2 separate regions of the Homo sapiens genome follow, and region 2 is linked to region 1. The links are contacts of gene promoters, found by promoter capture Hi-C in human tissues and cell types (Jung and others, 2019). All regions are on one chromosome and are shown on one strand. The core of a region is centred on a gene start or on the middle of the fragment in contact, and the rest is flanking DNA. Distances in the headings are between cores, read along the strand shown. Region 1 holds the start of C22orf23 (chromosome 22 open reading frame 23). Region 2 holds the start of LGALS1 (galectin 1).

Region 1 (4,382 bases), core at 514-3,013:
GGAGCTTCCATCTTGTTGCCCAGGCTGGAGTGCAGTGGCGCGACCTCAGCTCACTGCAATCTCCACCTCCTGGGTTCAAGGAATTCTCCTGCCTCAGCCTCCCAAGTAGCTGGGATTACAGACATGCGCCACCACGCCCGGCTAATTTTGTACTTTTAGTAGAGACTGGGTTTCTCCATGTTGGTCAGGCTGGTCGTGAACTCCTAACCTCAGGTGATCTGCCCACCTTGGCCTCCCAAAGTGCTGGGATTACCGGTTTGAGCCACCTCATTTTCTTTCACTGCTGTATCCCCAGCACCTAAAACAGAGTCTAAGGCACATGGTAGACTTAAAAATGTTGTTGTTGGAAAAAAACAAAAAAGTTGTTGAGTAAAAGAACACATGAATACTTGTTCATCATGTTTCAGGGGCTGGAGCTACAATTGTGGGCCGAAACAGGCACGGTTCCTGCCTGATGAAATTCATGATCTGGAGGGATAGATGGGACACCAAATAACTGACTACAGCTTGTGCTAAGCCCAGTGAAGGAAAATGTGTGAGGGCACATAACAGTTGATCCTACTGTGGTGGTGAGGAGCAGAAGTCTTCCTCGGGAAAGTTGAAAGTGTGATCTAAAGGATGCATAGGAGTTAACTACTCTAAAAATTTTAGTTCTTTGACTTTTGGCAAGGTGTAGCACCTTGAACCTTCCCCTCCCCCCCGCCCCGCCCCGCCCCCGAATAAGGCATATGCAGTAGAATTTTGAAGCTTTCTGAACCCCAGGCTCCTTATCTGTAAAGGAAAATAGTGCTAAGCCACAGGTCAGGTACGGGGGAACTGAGTTACAGAGGGTAACTACCACCATTCTTCTCTCATCCTTTAACTCAGGGGTCCCCAACCCTCCGTCCGTGGACTGGTACCAGTCCCTGGCCTGTTAGGAACCGGGCCGCACAGCAGGAGGTGAGCGGCAGGCTAGCGAGCCTCACCGCCTCCTTTCAGGTCAGTGACGGCCTTAGATTCTCATAGGAGCGCGAACCCTATTGTGAACTGCGCACGCGAGGGATCTAGGTTGCACGCTCCTTATGAGAATCTAACTAATACCTGATGATCTGAGGTGGAACAGTTTCATCCCGAAACCATTCCCCACACCTCCGTCAGTGGAAAAATTGTCTTCCACGAAACCGGTCCCTGGTGCCAAAAAGGCTGGGATCGCTGCTTTAACGGACTGACCTCTGAGCAGCTCGCAGGTCCCCGGGGTGTAAGTGATGGTCTTGGGGCGGCGCCGGAACCCAGTTCCTTTGGTCACTACCTCCATCTGCTTCTGTGAAGCCATGGGAGGACTCTGAGGAGGGAAAGACGCAATGACACACCCCCTGTCTCCTGTCCCTAATCTCTGTTCCCCGACGCCCAACACCCCCAGAAGTCTGGAAGCGGGGATCGAGCCAGAGAATGATGCCGCCAGTTAATATTGCGACAGTGCCCAAACCTCCCATCCAGACACACAGATACACACACACAGTCCTCATTCTGACCCAGCGCCTGTGGCAGGGAAGTCTCCTCGGGAGGGAGTGTTAACACAGCCATGGTCACAACAGTACCCACTGAGTGATATGCCAAAATTGAAATTTCACCCTAAGACCCTCTCTGGGTGCTCCCCTCTCCACATAGAAGTGGGCTCCCGGAGGCGGTGACCACTGCTTTACAGCCGCATCCGCACCGGTGCCACGCAGAAATACTGCGCGATCTGGGCTGCTGGAGCTGGCAGCTAGCGCCTCTCGCTACTATAGAAACGCGCACACACCAGTCAGCGCATGCGCACTTTCCCCGCTCTGTCCTGCCTCCCGGAAGTGATTTCCTCTGGGTTACGGCGCAGGCGCAAGATAAGCTAGGAGCCGCGCGAGTCGTAGTGTCGCTGTTTGCGGGTCTCCGCGCGGGACCGGGGCGCAGCGGGGTCGCTGAGGCGAGGGTGTCATGTCAGACAACGAGGACAAGTGAGTGCGGGAGCGGAGTGGCCTTTGCGGCAACCTTGGAAGGGGCGGATGAGGCAAGGCTTGGGTCGGCTGAGGAGCCTGGCGTCTAGGGGCAATGTCTGAGGGGACTGGGGTCCTGAGGGGGCCGGCGGAGCCGAGGAAGGGAAGGGCGGGCGACCCAGGAGCACAGCCCCGGCTGGAGGCACAGGAGGGCCCAGGCTCGAGGGTCCAGAGGGGATCCGTAGAAAAGGTGTCCTTCAGCAAATGTTCCAGCGAGCCGGGCTCTGTATCATGCAGTGGGAATATTGAGGTGAATGAACAATCGTCCCTGCCTCTCCACGTGCTCACTTTCTAGAAAAGGGGTCACAGGCCCATAAGTAAGCAAGCAAGCAGGTAACGGTGGTCGCGTGAGCTTCCCCAGTTCTAGACGTATGTAGTATAGGAGTACTCCAGAGGAGGGTCTGGGGCAGCTCCACCGGGTGGCATTAAATAAAAGTCTGGGACGGTCCTTTGCAGTAATTTTTTTTTTTTTTTGAAACAGAGTCTTGCTCTGTCGCCCAGGCTGGAGTGCAGTGGCGCGATCTCGGCTCACTGCAGCCTCCACCTCCGGGGTTCAAGGGATTCTCCTGCCTCAGCCTCCCGACTAGCTGGGATTATGGGCGTGCACCACCACGCCTTGCTAATTGCTTGTAGTTTTAGTAGAGACGGGTTTCACCATGTTGGCCAGACTGGCCTCGAACTCCTGAGCTTGTGATCCACCCGCCTCGGCCTCCCAAAGTGCTGGGATCACAGGCGTGAGCCACCGTGCCCGGCCTGCTTGTAGTAATCTAGATGAGAGAAGTCAGTAGCTTATAGTAGGGTGGTAGGAGTAGAGGTGGTGAGAACTGGTTTTGAATTCTGGATATATTACTATTTTAAAGATAGAGCCCAAAAATTACCTGTGGGATATGTGGGTGCAAAGAGAGCTAGTCTGAAGATAAAAATAAGAAACGTGTGGGATTGCTACCCCATTCCCAGTGAGTGTCAGTAGAGAAGAGGAGATGACCCGTGGCTGAGCATTAGGGCATTTGGACATTGAGTGCTTGGGGGAAAAGAGAAGCCGGGGAGGTGGGGGAACACCAAGAGGGTGAGGTGTCCTTGGAGTCAAGTGAGGAGAGCAAGTGGCCTAATGTGCCAGCTGATAGATCAGGCTAAATGAGAAGGAGAGTTGGCCATTGGATTTAGCAACGTGGAGATCATTAATGAGCTTGGAAAGTGGTTTTGATGGAGCTGTTGGGGTGAAAGGCTTTTTGGAGTGAGATTATGACAAAATGGGAAGAGAGGAAGATAGTGAGGGTGGACAGCTCTTTCACACATTTTTGCTTCAAAGGACACCATGGAATTAGGGCTATAGGGGGAGAGAGAAGAGAAATAAGGGTTTTTTTTTTTTTTTTTTTAGATGAGGAAAAGCACATGTTGAAATGCTGATGGGGCCGGGTGCTGTGGCTTACACCTCTAATCCCAGCACTTTGGGAGGCCGAGGAGGGTGGATCACCTGAGGCCAGGAGTTCGAGACCAGCCTGGTCAACATGGTGAAACCCCATCTTTACTAAAAATACAAAAATTAGCTGGGCATGGTGGCGTGTGCCTATAATCCCAGCTACTCGGGAGGCTGAGACAGGAGAATTGCTTGAACCCAGGAGGCAGAGGTTGCAGTGAGCCAAGATCACGCCATTGCACTCCATCCTGGACAACAGAGCGAGACTTTGTCTCAAAAAAAAAAAAAATGCTGATGGGAATGATCCAGTAGAGAGGGAAACAGTGATGATGAATGAGTACTAGCAATATTTGGGGGCAGATGGGGAAAAATTGAAGGGGTAAAATGGAACAAAAGTCGGATTTACTTCTTCTTCTTATTATTATTTTTTATTTTTTGAGAAGGAGTCTCGCTGTGTCACCCAGGCTGGAGTGCAGTGGGGTGACCGTGGCTCAGTGCACCCTCCGCCTCTCGGGTTCAAGCAATTCTTGTGCCTCAGCCTCCTGAGTAGCTGGGATTACAGGCGCCCACCACCACACCCGGCTAATTTTTTTGTATTTTTAGCAGAGACGAGATTTCTCCATGTTGGCCAGGCTGGTCTTGGACTCCTGACCTCAAGTGATGCACCCACCTCGGCCTCTCAAAGTGCTGGGATTACAGACGTGAGCCACTGCACTCAGCTGATTTACTTATTAAGTAAATATTTATTGAGTGCTTCCTACATACTGGGCGAGACACAGATCTCTGCCCTCTTTGATTTTTTTTTTGTTTGTTTTTTGTTTTGCGGTGGCGGGGGGGGGTTTTGAGACGGAGTTTCACTCTTGTTGCCCAGGCTGGAGTGCAATGGCGTGATCTCAGCTCACCACAACCTCCGCCTCCTGGGTTCAAGTGATTCTCCTGCCTCAGCCTCCCAAGTA
Region 2 (4,382 bases), core at 752-3,251, 280 kb before region 1:
ACCCACCCTCAATTCTCTGCCACAGTGATCTTCCCTAGAGCCCAAATCTGGCCTCAGTACTCACCCTCCCTCTAGCCCTGGCTCCCCAGCCTCCTCCCATACAACAATGTCCAAGCCCTGTGCCCAGCCCATGAGGCCCTCCATGGTCCAGGTCCTGTTGGCTTCCCAGCCTCATCCCCGTTTTTCCCCCACATGCCCGGAACACTGTTCTCCAGCCCTGGCCTTCTCATTCTGGAGCTTCTGCCCATGGTGGAAAGCCAGGCACTTCTCCGCCTACCCTTCACGACCCACCTCCTTTACTCATGCAGCCGCCAGCCCACCATAGCACTTTCTCATGGCTTCCCTTACAGCCATCATCATCTACTTCTTTTTATTTTTATTTTTATTTTTTATTTTTTTTAATTGAGACTGAGTTTCACTCTTATTGCCCAGGCTGGAGTGCAATAGACTGATCTCGGATCACTGCAACCTCTGCCTCCTGGGTTCAAGCGATTCTCCTGCCTCAGCCTCAGGAGTAGCAGGGATTACAGGCATATGCCACCATGCCCAGCTAATTTTGTATTTTTAGTAGAGATGGGGTTTCTCCGTGTTGGTCAGGCTAGTCTCGAACTCCTAACCTTAGGTGATCCGCCCGCCTCGGCTTCCTAAAGAGCTGGGATTACCGGCGTGAGCCACTGCGCCCAGCCCATCATCTACTTCTTAACGTGGTTGTGGTCAGATTCCACCCCAACTATGCGCTCCTTGAGAGTGGGGACTGGGAGGGGTTCAGCTTTGAATCCTCAGAGCCCAGGGCCAGGTACATAGTAGGTGCTCAGTAAAATACCTGCTGAACACTCAGGGAAGGGAGGGCTGTGCCGGGCCTCAGAGGAGATGTTAAGAGAGCAGACAGGGTGGCCAGGCATGGTGGCTCACACCTGTAATCCCATTACTTTGGGAGGCTGAGGCGGGTGGATCAACTGAGGTCAGGAGTTTGAGACCAGCCTGGCCAACGTGGTGAAACCCCGTCTCTACTAAAAGTACATAAATTAGCCGGGTGTGGTGGTGGGGGCCTGTAGTCCCAGCTACTCGGGAGGCTGAGGCAGGAGAATCAGTTGAACCTGGGAGGCAGAGGTTGCAGTGAGCTGAGATCACGCCACTGCACTCCAGCCTGGGCGACAGAGCGAGACTCCATCTCAAAAATAAATATATAAATAAATAAAAATAAAAAAGAGAAAGGACAGGGTGCACAGAGCCAGGACCCCACCCCCTCCTGGTCTGGACCACCCTGGGCCATCTCCTAAGCTTGACACTCTCAGGCCTGAGGCTGTCAGGCCAGGGCGCTTTGACTATCCCCTGCCTGCCCCTGAACGCGGCCAAGCCCGAGGCCTTAGCCAAGCCCTGCAGCCTCAGGCTTGGCGCCCGGCCCAGCCTTTCTTTAGCCTTCCCGAGGAGCCAGCGAGAGAGCGCTGCAGCAGCCGCAGTCCTTGCTTCCGGGGAAGGCCCGGGTGGGGCCAGGGCCTGTGGTTAAGTCAGTGGCCCTCTGCAGACGCGCACGCAGCAGGAGCCACGCCCTGGTCCCTGCCCGGGAGTGGCCTGGTCTCCCCCAGCTCTGATTCCCTGAAGGACCCTGCACCTCCTCAGCCATCTTCTCTGGGCACCCCCTGAGCCCAGCCTGCTGGCCACAGGCCCCTTCCCGCCAACTTGTGGGCCTAGCTCATCATCAAACTATTTTCCACTGGCTTCCCCCAATCTCTGCCACAGCACAATTTTGGTGGGGAGGTGGAGAGGGATGAAGGAGAATAGGAGGTGGAGCTTGGACTCTGGCCGGGGGCGGCGGGGTGAGGGGGGGCAGCAGCTCGCCACTCTGATTGGTCACCTCTGCTCCAAAACTGGCTTCAAAATTCCACGGACTCCGCCCCCAGTGGCCCCCAGCCCTATCCTGACTTGCAATTGGCTGAACTTTCAGGGGGCGGGGCTCACCCGGTCCGGTCCAGTTAAAAGGGTGGGAGCGTCCGGGGGCCCATCTCTCTCGGGTGGAGTCTTCTGACAGCTGGTGCGCCTGCCCGGGAACATCCTCCTGGACTCAATCATGGCTTGTGTGAGTGTGGGGACCCCCCCCCAAGGTCCAGGGGATAGGGCAGGAACTGATGGCCAGAGGAGAGCTGGGCAGATCGGGAGCAGATTCTAGCCCCAGCTGTGTGGCCTGGAACCAGTGCCTTCTCTTTTCTGGACCTCAGTGGCCACATCTGTAAAATGGGGGTGGGCGCCATGGTCCCTCAAGGCCTTCTCTGCATTGATAATTGTCTGGATTCCTCCAGGGTCTGAAAGCACAGTTATTTCTGCCCAGGGTTGACATTCTGCAGCTCTCTGAGAAGTGAGCGTGGGAAGGGTGTGGCCAACTGGGGGACACCCAGGCCACTATCCCTTTCCCCCTCCTCCACCCCAAAGAGCCTCCTGTCCCCTCCCCCCTGCAGCTGTCCCGGTCACCAGGCCAGGGCAGAGTTACCCTCTGCTCCAGAGAACGCTGAAAAGTTGCCAGGACCCGAGACAAGCTGCCCAGGATGGGCCCTTCTAGGTCGGGGGTGGAGGGTGGTTGTGTCCAGGCTGGTGGCGGGGGGGGCGGGGGAAATTCCCTTCCACCACCCCCAAGCTGGGAGGTTGGGGTGGCAGGGAGGTGAGAATCTTCCTCGGGCCCCAGGGAAAGGGTTCAAGTTTCTGGCAGAAGAAACCACTCAAACCAGTTAACTCTTGCCCACCCACTCGGGGTGCCAGGGAACAGCAGTGCCCAGCAGTTTGCTCAATCTTGTTAACCCTGAGCCAGCCCAGCCACAGCCCGACTGCAGGGCTATTCTCCCTAATGCAGAGAGGCCGTGTTTTTCAGGGTCTCCTCTCTAGCCCCTGGGCCTCTTTGCAGAGAGGGGCTTGAAGGAGAATAGTGGGGTCGCCCGCCCCTAGCCACTTCCTCTCCAGCAGAGGGGCCGGCCCCTCCATTCAGTGTGACGGTGGGCCAAGTGTCGGCCCCTCCCCAGCCTGATCCTCTCCATCTGCGATGGGACAGAGCACCCCATCTCCCAAGTCACTCTTGAGTCCAAAATTCCCAAGCCAATCTGCAAAATCTTCTAGAGCCTGTCTTCTAGAACCTTCACGTTACAGACTGAAGCCAACCCCGGTGGGAATAGGGACTTTCCCAGGACCACATAGACAATCGGAGGCTGGAAATTACAGCTCAATCCTTTCCCCAGGCTTCCCCTTGGCTTGGTCAGAGGATGCCGGGCGGGAACAACCCCACTCCCACCCCCAGCCACCCCCGGACACTTCGAGCAGTGGAGGCCTTGTCCTCTAACCCGGCTGGGCCGGGGCTTGTCTGTGCAGGGTCTGGTCGCCAGCAACCTGAATCTCAAACCTGGAGAGTGCCTTCGAGTGCGAGGCGAGGTGGCTCCTGACGCTAAGAGGTGAGAAGTGAAGTCGGGGTGGTGGGCGGCAGGGACGGGCTTGGTCCAGCAGGGAGGGCGTGGCCGGCCAAGCCCACATCTCCTCCCTGGCCGGGAGCGGGTTAACGGCCAGCCGCCGATGCTGCGTTTTCTGGGTGACTCACTTCCCCCGCAGGGTCTGGGCGCCCCCACCGTTGCCGCCCCCTCCCCCGCTCCCTCCCTGCTGTAGCCTCTTAAACTAAACCAGCTGCAGCCTCGTCATCTGTAATACCTTGACTCCCCCGCCCCCACCCCTTTCCGGTCTGGGCGGGACCTGTCGCTGGGGAGGGCGGGGAGAGGAGTGGGGCGGGCGTCACCGCCGCCTTCCCCCTGAGTCCCTCCTTCCTGCGTCTGGTCATTCATTCATTCACTGGCTCAGTCCGGTCCTTCTTCCTTCACTTCTCATTCACTCAGACGGCTGCCTTATTTTCTCGGCAGTTAGGTGACCTTGGACCAGTCAACCAACCTCACCTAGCCTCAGTTTGTTAGAAAAACAAGGGGGGAGGTGGTTGTGTGGAGGAAGTGAGATGCGGCTGGCGCAGTGACAGTGAGGAGGATGAGGATCAGCTGATATTGTTAAGAGCCGCACACTTCTCATGCACTAATTTCATTTCAACCAAACCCTCAGAGGCAGGTATTGCTATTATCACCACTCAACAAATGTATTTATTATTTTATTTATTTATTTATTATTTTATTATTTTATTTATTTATTTTTTGAGACACAGTCTCACCCTGTCGCCCAGGCTGGAGTGCAATGGCGTGATCTCGGCTCACCACAACCTCCGCCTCCCGGGTTCAAACGATTCTCCGGCTTCAGCCTCCTGAGTAGCCGGGATTACAGGGGCCCACCACAACGCCCAGCTAATTTATGTACTTTTAGTAGAGACGGGGTTTCACCATGTTGGCCAGGCTGGTCTCGAACTCCTGACC

What was found. Contacts are between HindIII fragments. The study calls those that stand out against the background at their distance.
Region 2: the fragment with the promoter of LGALS1 here is called in contact with the fragment with the promoter of C22orf23 in region 1 in 1 of the 25 tissues and cell types used here (dorsolateral prefrontal cortex).

What each region holds. Positions count from the first base shown.
Region 1 is chr22:37,951,838-37,956,219 of GRCh38, forward strand. It overlaps C22orf23 (chromosome 22 open reading frame 23), which reads right to left and starts at 1,764. Exons shown (of 7, transcript NM_032561.5): 1 at 1,611-1,764; 2 at 1,210-1,321. The coding sequence starts at 1,312. POLR2F (RNA polymerase II, I and III subunit F) reads left to right here and starts at 1,862. Exons shown (of 5, transcript NM_021974.5): 1 at 1,862-1,970. The coding sequence starts at 1,951. RefSeq lists a silencer at 2,028-2,097. The HindIII fragment of the contact is 12,825 bases long and covers 1-4,382 here.
Region 2 is chr22:37,673,635-37,678,016 of GRCh38, forward strand. It overlaps LGALS1 (galectin 1), which reads left to right and starts at 2,002. Exons shown (of 4, transcript NM_002305.4): 1 at 2,002-2,077; 2 at 3,352-3,431. The coding sequence starts at 2,069. RefSeq lists silencers at 1,805-1,944, 3,465-3,974 and an enhancer at 3,818-4,382. The HindIII fragment of the contact is 16,498 bases long and covers 1-4,382 here.